Regions from separate parts of the Homo sapiens genome. Here region 1 is linked to region 2. Evidence: promoter capture Hi-C in 16 types of primary human blood cells and fetal thymus (Javierre and others, 2016). All regions are on one chromosome and are shown on one strand. The core of a region is centred on a gene start or on the middle of the fragment in contact, and the rest is flanking DNA. Distances in the headings are between cores, read along the strand shown. Region 1 holds the start of HIVEP1 (HIVEP zinc finger 1). Region 2 holds the start of MYLIP (myosin regulatory light chain interacting protein).

Region 1 (3,593 bases), core at 374-2,873, 4.1 Mb after region 2:
TTCACCCCCCACCCTCTTGCAAAATGCGTCTGCGGCTGGAAGGCGGCTGGGGAGGCTGGGTCCCTCTGTACCTGCTCGGCTCGCGCGCGGCGAGGGCGCCCAGAAGTGCCAAGGGTCTCCCGCACGCAGCCATCCCCTCTGCAAGGTCGGCGGTTGCACACACACGCACACACACACACACACGCGCGCCCGCACGCCCCCCGCCCGCCGAAGGGATGTGCTCCTGCCCCCCCCCCCCTCCGCCCCGCCGCCCTCCCCAGCTGCAGCGCCCCCGCCGCGGAGCCCGCGCCGAACCTGCTGCCAGGACGCCCGGCGGAGCCGCTGCCGCTGCAGCCGGCCCTGGAGCTGCGCTGCTGATGGCGGCGGCCGCGGCTCGGGATCTCCGCGACCCCCGCGCGGCGGCGGCGGCGGCGCCTGGGATCCCTCCTTCACTTGACAACCCCAAACACAAACATAACCTCCTCCGGCGGCCGCCGCTCCCCGGTCCCCCGCTCCGTCCGCCACCCTGCCGCCGCCCAGCAGCCGCCACGCTGAAGGCCGGCGACTGGCGCTCACACCACCCAGCACTGAAATATTAAACAGGGGAGCGGGCCGGGGGGCGGGGGGGGGAGCGCGGGGCGCGCGGGCGGGGGCCGCAGCCGCCGGGCGGAGGAGGCGGCGAAGCTCGCCGGCGCCCGGAGCCACGGCATGATCGCGGCCGCCAGGGAGCCGGGCAGCCGGGCTGGGGGGCGCGCGCCGCGGCGGGGCGGGCGGACAGACCCTGGGGCCGCGGGGCCCGGGGCGGGAAGGACGGGCGCGGGCTTTACCTCTCCCCCGGGGCAGAGTAGGGCACGTTTAGCGTCTTTGGGGCCGGCGGGAGGAACGCGGGCCGGGCGGCGCGGGGGAGGCAGGGCGAAGGTCGGAGGCTTTCCCGCGGGTGGGCGGGGCGGCAGGGGATCCCCGGGGGCGGGAGGAGGGGAGGCCGCGGGCGGCGACGCGTGGGCGGGGGAGGGGGCGTCCCCGCGGGGGCTGGGGTTGAGGCCGGGGCGAGGGGCGCGGGACGCCCAGGCGCCGGGGCCCAGCTGGGCCGGCGCGGCCGCCAGCTCTGACCGGGTGTAGGGACTGGATGGGCGCCCGGCCCGGCACGAACCCGGAGCCAGTGCCCCGGGTCTCCCCGGCGGGGCGGGCCCCAGACCGCGCCGGCCCCGCCACCTACCCGCCGCTTCGCCCCTCCCCGCCCCGCCCGGCCGAGCCGCCGCAGGGACGGGAGGGGGACGCGGGAGGAGGTGGCAGCGCAGCCCGGGGGGGAGGGGCGGGGTTAGGGACGCGGGGGGCGGGAGCCCTGGGTCGCGACGCCTGGGGAACCAGCACACGGCGGGGGCGGAGGGGCGGGCCCGGCCAGTCACGCGGCCCCGGGAAGGCCTGGCGGGGTCGCTCAGTTGGGGGCGGTTGGTCCGGGAAGAGGGACGGGACGGGCGGGGCCGTAGTTTCTCTTTACCGTCTCTTTACTTTCTACAGCAGGATGTGGGCCGGCCGCTGACGTCATGGGGTCTCCCGGCCCCGCCCCTCGCCCGGGCAGAATGGGGGAGGGGGAGGCGGGGGGGGGGGGGGACCCCAAGGGGGTTTCCTCAGCAACGCGTAGAAGGAAGGGGAAAGTCATTGTGAAACTTAAAACTCATTAACTTTGAAAAACAACTTTTAAAAAAACGGAGGGGGCAGGGTGTTGGTTTGGAGAGTGGAAGGGGACATGTTAACCCTGAACTGAAACCACTTTTTGGTGGCGGATGTTCTATTAAAAGAGCGAGGAAAGCCAAGGTTATTCCAGAGGCCGCTCCAAAGCCCCGCTGGTGCTTCCCAGTGCCGAAGCTGCGAGCGCAATTAACCCCTGCCTGCCAGCCTGACAGCTTATAGGGCCAACCCGGGAGGGGACTTCGGGGACAGAAAAGGGGGGTGCGGGGCTGGTCGTCGGACCGGGCTCCAGGGAAGAGGGGAGAGCGTGAAAGGGGAAGAGGGAGTAATTAGCATGAACCAAGGTGTGACCCCGGCTGCTAGAAAGCAGTAGAGAAAGCAAGGAGTGGAAATCCATGGCAAAGCAGTGAAGAGGGGCTGGACCAGGGTAACGAAGGTTTTCAGGGTTAGACCTAAAGAACGTTCGCAGTTTGGGGCACAGAAATTCCACAGGTCCACCTCAAGAAGCAAAAGTGGCTGGTTTAACGGGCCACCTCAAACTTGAGAGGAATAAGGTGAAACAAAATTGATGCAAAAAAAAAAAAATCCCTGATGAAACTAAACTGGTTTCCCCTTTTAAGGAATAAAAATGCTAAACGACCATACAACCACTAAGACAGCTGGCCATCTGTGCAAACTTGAATTGTTTTGTTCCCTTGGGCTTCCATAACGACGTCTAGGTTTTTCCTGCTGGAGTTGACCCCTAAAATTCCCCTGAGGAAATCGTACCTCTGGCTCATTTGAGCTAAGAAAAGCTCAAACCACCAGAATGGGAATGATTAAAAATGGAATACTCAGTAATGGCGAGTGTGTAGCCAAAAATAATATCATGTAAAGGGAGAAATATGCCTACTACAAAGTAAATTTGGTTATAAAAGCAAAGATCATCCAACTGTGTACATGTACAATTATGTCTAGCATACTAATGCTAACCCTACGATGAAATAATGCAATTTTTATTTTCATTGTGCTATAACCATCTCTCATTTGTGAAATGAAATGATATCCAATAGGTTGCAATCACCAAAAAAGTATATAATGTAACTTCCCAACTGGGTTATTTGAATCCAAAAGTAAACATGCATTTAACTGTGAACGTATAGCTATTAATCTGTCAGGAGAAAGGTAATGTGATAATGAGTGAAGTTTGTATCACTTTGGAAGTGAAAAATGCTAACTGAATGAATAACGTTTAACCCAATAATTGTTGAGCACAACATACTGTCAACACAATGTTTATGTAGGATTCAGCATTACTACGAACTTTCTAACAAAACATACATGCAATTTCGAATTACGATAGGTAAATTTTGACATTTCAACTATTTCCTTGAGCAGCAAACCGATATTAAACTTTTATTTGAAATATATACAATACAGAATAGTTTCCTAGTAAGTTTTTGAATTTTCTAAATGCAGTTTCTTTTCCTAATTCTGCCTACAATTCTTCCCAGATATCAGGATGCAGGGAAACCTGGCTATACTATAAAGTAGCTTCTTTAGGCTTGTTTTGTGGCAAATCCAATATATTTTCTCAAAATGTATCAAATAAACACAGCGTGGGAAAAAAATGAAGCAGAGGGTGAATGTGGAGGATGAATGTGAATGGTAAACTGCAGTTTCAACTGTCAAAAATCCTGGGACAATGCAGGAGCAAGTGACCATTCTCTGCCCCCAAAAAAGAGGGGGCTCCTGGAGGTCCATTTCTCTATGGTTCCATCCCCACCGTCCGCGTGAACGCTTCTGGAGCCCCCCTTGGGGAAAGTGGGGTTCGAGGGAGGATAGTGTCACTGAAAAGCTCAACACACGTTTTTCTTGGCGAACAGTTTGGAGAGGGCACAAAGTCCACCCCGGAGCCGCGTCCACTGGGCCCCGCGCCACCCTGC
Region 2 (3,497 bases), core at 151-2,650:
GCTAAGATTGCTGGTGCTTTTTACAAAGTTCAATGGTGTTACAATTCCTGATCTAAACTGGAAAAACAAAGTTCCACGGCTCCAATGATACCAAACCACGAGCTCTAGTATGGAGGCTCATAATTCCTTTTAACGTCTAGGGCATGACCAATTGCAATAGAGAAAAAAGGAGTCCTCAAAAGTAGCCTTCCAAAAGATGAGGAGGGGAAACTACAGGGTATTTTCCTTCGTATTCCAATCACCGGAATTCCCTCCACCAGCATACTCTGCACAGCTGATTTTTGGCGACTTATTATCTGGGCAATTTTAACCATTTGGACTCCAAAAATCAAACACATTGAGGGAACACGCCACAAGTGTCAGCTAAGCTTCACAAGCGGTTTTCCAAACATCTCAGAGCTAGAGGGGTTGAGGGCACAGCGTTTTCCTGGGATCACATGTGCTGTCTGCCATACCACCTCTGCACTATTTGGCACCGATCTCCCTCACTGTTAAGGAAACACATGCTTAAAAACAACCGAGCAGTAGATGACCCAAACCTATTCCTCCCGTCCCCCGCAAACCCGGAGATGCAGGTGAACGGTGCATTTGAGAGCAGCAGCCTGAGAAGCAGCGTGAGACAAGGGCCCGGCTTGTCTGCCAAGAACCCCTGGGGCCCGAGACTGCTTCGAGCCACTCCATCCCATCCTGGCACGCGGGTGGCACTGCCAGGCGCCGCGGGGACCCGACAGGCGGCATCACGCACATACCTGCGGCAGGTGTGCGGAGCCGCCTTCTTCCGGGAAAGTGCTGGGTTGGGGGGATGATGGGGCGCTGGGGGGTGGATCCCGGCTGCGGGCTGCGCCCGGCCCTCAGCGCTGGGGACCCCCGCTGCGCGCTTTCTCCGCGCACCCCACGCGCGCCAGGAGGAGACCGCGCGCCCCACGCCCGTGGAGAGGAGGGGACGCGCTCCCCCCGGCTGCCGCCGCAGTGCCTCCCGGCCCCTAGTAGGGGGCGCGCCAGAGTGCCAGGCGTCGCTGCGAGGCCCCTCGGCCTCGCGGGACCCGCCGGGGCCCCTTCTTGCCCCTCGCCCTCACCTGGTTGAGGCAGTCCTCGCCGTTGGCTTTCGCCTCCACCTCCACCTCCATCAGCACCGCGTCCGGCCTCGTCACATAACACAGCATGGCTGGGGCTGCCGCTGCCGCCACAGCCGCCTTCTCTTTGGTGTGCGCGGGGCTGCCGCCTTGTCACTGGTGGGACCCAGCCCCGGACTCGGAGAGGGCTGGCCCTCGAAGGCTGCAGCTCTGCGGACCCTTGTCCGGGGCCCCGCGGCCGCCACTCGCGTCCCCGCCACCCCCTCACCCGCTGCCCGCCAGCTGCCCCTGTCCTCCGCGGTGGCGCCGCACTCCAGCAGCCCAACTGCCTGCGCTGCGACAGGGACTCTGCTGATATAGCGGCCCCGCCCCCTTCAGCTCGGGTCCCCGCCAATCACGGCCTCCCTGCCCCTCCTCCCCCGCCCGATCAGCCAATAGCGGCGCCCCTCGACCGCGGCCCCCGCCTCCCAGAGCCGGCTGAGTTTCCCTGGCCGCCCCGGGAGGTGGCAGCTTGCGGGCGCCGAGTGCTGCGGGAAGGGAGGGAGACCCCGGAACACACCAGCCGCCTCTGTCCGCTGGGCGACGCTGCTCAGAGTGAGCGATCGCCCGGGGCTCCAGGCGGGGACGCCTTTCTGCCGTCTCGAATTTACGGTGATTAAACACCTCCAAGCTGCCACTGTTCTTCAAATATCTTGGATCACTCTGAGCACGCATTTCGGTTGTGAAAGCAAAAAGGAAAAGGAGCAACCCAAAGCCTAAAGAAAACTGTTCTCGTCCGGGCATGGTGGCTCACGCCTGTAATCCCAGCACTTTGGGAGGCCGAGATGGGTGGATCACCTGAGGTCAGATTCGAGACCAGCCTGGCAAACATGGTGAAACCCCCGTCTCTACTAAAAATACAAAAAAAAAAACAAAATAGCCAGGCGTGGTGGCGGGCACCTGTAATCCCAGCTACCTGGGAGGCTGAGGCAGGAGAATCGCTTGAACCCAGGAGGCGGAGGTTGCAGTGAGCTGAGATTGTGTCACTGCACTGTAGCTTGGGCAAGAAGAGCAAAAAACCCTGTCTCAAAAAAAAAAAAAAAAAAAAAAAAAAAAAGAAAAGAAAAAGAAAAAAGAAAAAAAAAAGAGAAAAAGAAAACTCTTTTCCACCAGGATTAGCCACAGTGGGTTGCTTGGAGGCAGAATTGTTGTTCCTTATTAAGACCTCATCATTGAGAAAAACAAAATCTGAGTATGAAAGTTTTTGCAGCTGACCAGTGAGCCAGGTGTCTTGGTCTAGTGCTGGTGTGTTACACTCCGGAAGGGCTTCTCCTTACTCGTTCTGCTGAATCAAAACGCCTTACAGGGTACCAGGCCCTCTCTCAGGTTGCTCATTCTACCTCCTGTCTTATCTCACTCATTCATTAAACATTTGTGCAGCACCTGATACCCTGCCTGTCCCTTCTCACAGGCAACCAGATGTTGTCCTCGTCTTAAGGTAAGGTGCTCATCTCCTGACCTAACAGGTGGCATTACTGCAATATTAGCTATTAAAGGTCTACAACCCTTCACTCATTTACCGCTTGTTCCTCTTTGCCAATATATTACATAGCCTACCTTTTTGATTTCTTTATAGGAGCCAGATGATGTGGGTTTCAGCCGTGGAAACTTAGCAAACTTACTTCAGGCCAGCTCGATGGCTCACACCTGTAATCCCAGCACTTTTGGAGGCCGAGGCAGGAGGATCGCCTGAGCCCAGCAGTTTGAGACCAGCCCGGTTTCGCAACACAGCGAAACCCCATCTCTACACAAAATACAAAAAATTAGCCAGGCGTGGTGGCGCCTGCCTGTAGTCTCAGCTACATGGGAGGCTGAGGTGGGAGGATCACTTGAGCCTGGGAGTTCGAGGCTGCAGTGTGCTGTGATCCCCCTACTGCACTCCAGCCTAGGCGACAGAGCAAAAGACCCTGTCTCTAAACAACAACAACAACAAAAAGAAAACAACGAAAGAAAAAAAAAGAGAAAACTTACTTCATCTGTCTGAAGCTTGGTGTTGTCAACAGTAAAATGGAGATGGCAATATCTGCTCTGTCTCCACCCAGCATTGTTGGGAAGCGCAGCAAAGATAATAACGTTCACAAAAGCATTTGAATGTCCCCGTGTATGTAAGGGGAGCTATAAGTTCAGTGCCTTCACTGCTTAATGATGACTTTTCCTGTCCCTACCCCCCTTCACGAGTCCCAAGGATCTGTTAGTGGCCTTTATTTCCGAACAACCAGGTACGATATCAGAGCCCAAGGCTAAAAAAAAAGGAGGGATCCTCCCACACACAGTTCTTTGCTAAAGCTGACCGAGTAAAACTGTAAACTGTCCAAGTCCTAACCCCCACTGTTGCAGAGGAACAGGTGCACTCTCACATCTTTCTGTCTTATAAATACACCTCAT

Evidence for each region. Contacts are between HindIII fragments. The CHiCAGO score rates a contact against its expected background, and 5 or more counts as called.
Region 1: a fragment that was not itself captured here is called in contact with the fragment with the promoter of MYLIP in region 2 in 1 of 17 cell types (fetal thymus); the score reaches 7.2 in fetal thymus.

What each region holds. Positions count from the first base shown.
Region 1 is chr6:12,009,268-12,012,860 of GRCh38, reverse strand. HIVEP1 (HIVEP zinc finger 1) reads right to left here and starts at 549. Exons shown (of 9, transcript NM_002114.4): 1 at 295-549. RefSeq lists silencers at 395-534, 715-1,624, 3,572-3,593 and an enhancer at 1,954-2,498. The HindIII fragment of the contact is 4,790 bases long and covers 1-3,593 here.
Region 2 is chr6:16,126,989-16,130,485 of GRCh38, reverse strand. It overlaps MYLIP (myosin regulatory light chain interacting protein), which reads right to left and starts at 1,400. Exons shown (of 7, transcript NM_013262.4): 1 at 1,077-1,400. The coding sequence starts at 1,163. RefSeq lists a silencer at 719-1,718. The HindIII fragment of the contact is 2,730 bases long and covers 371-3,100 here.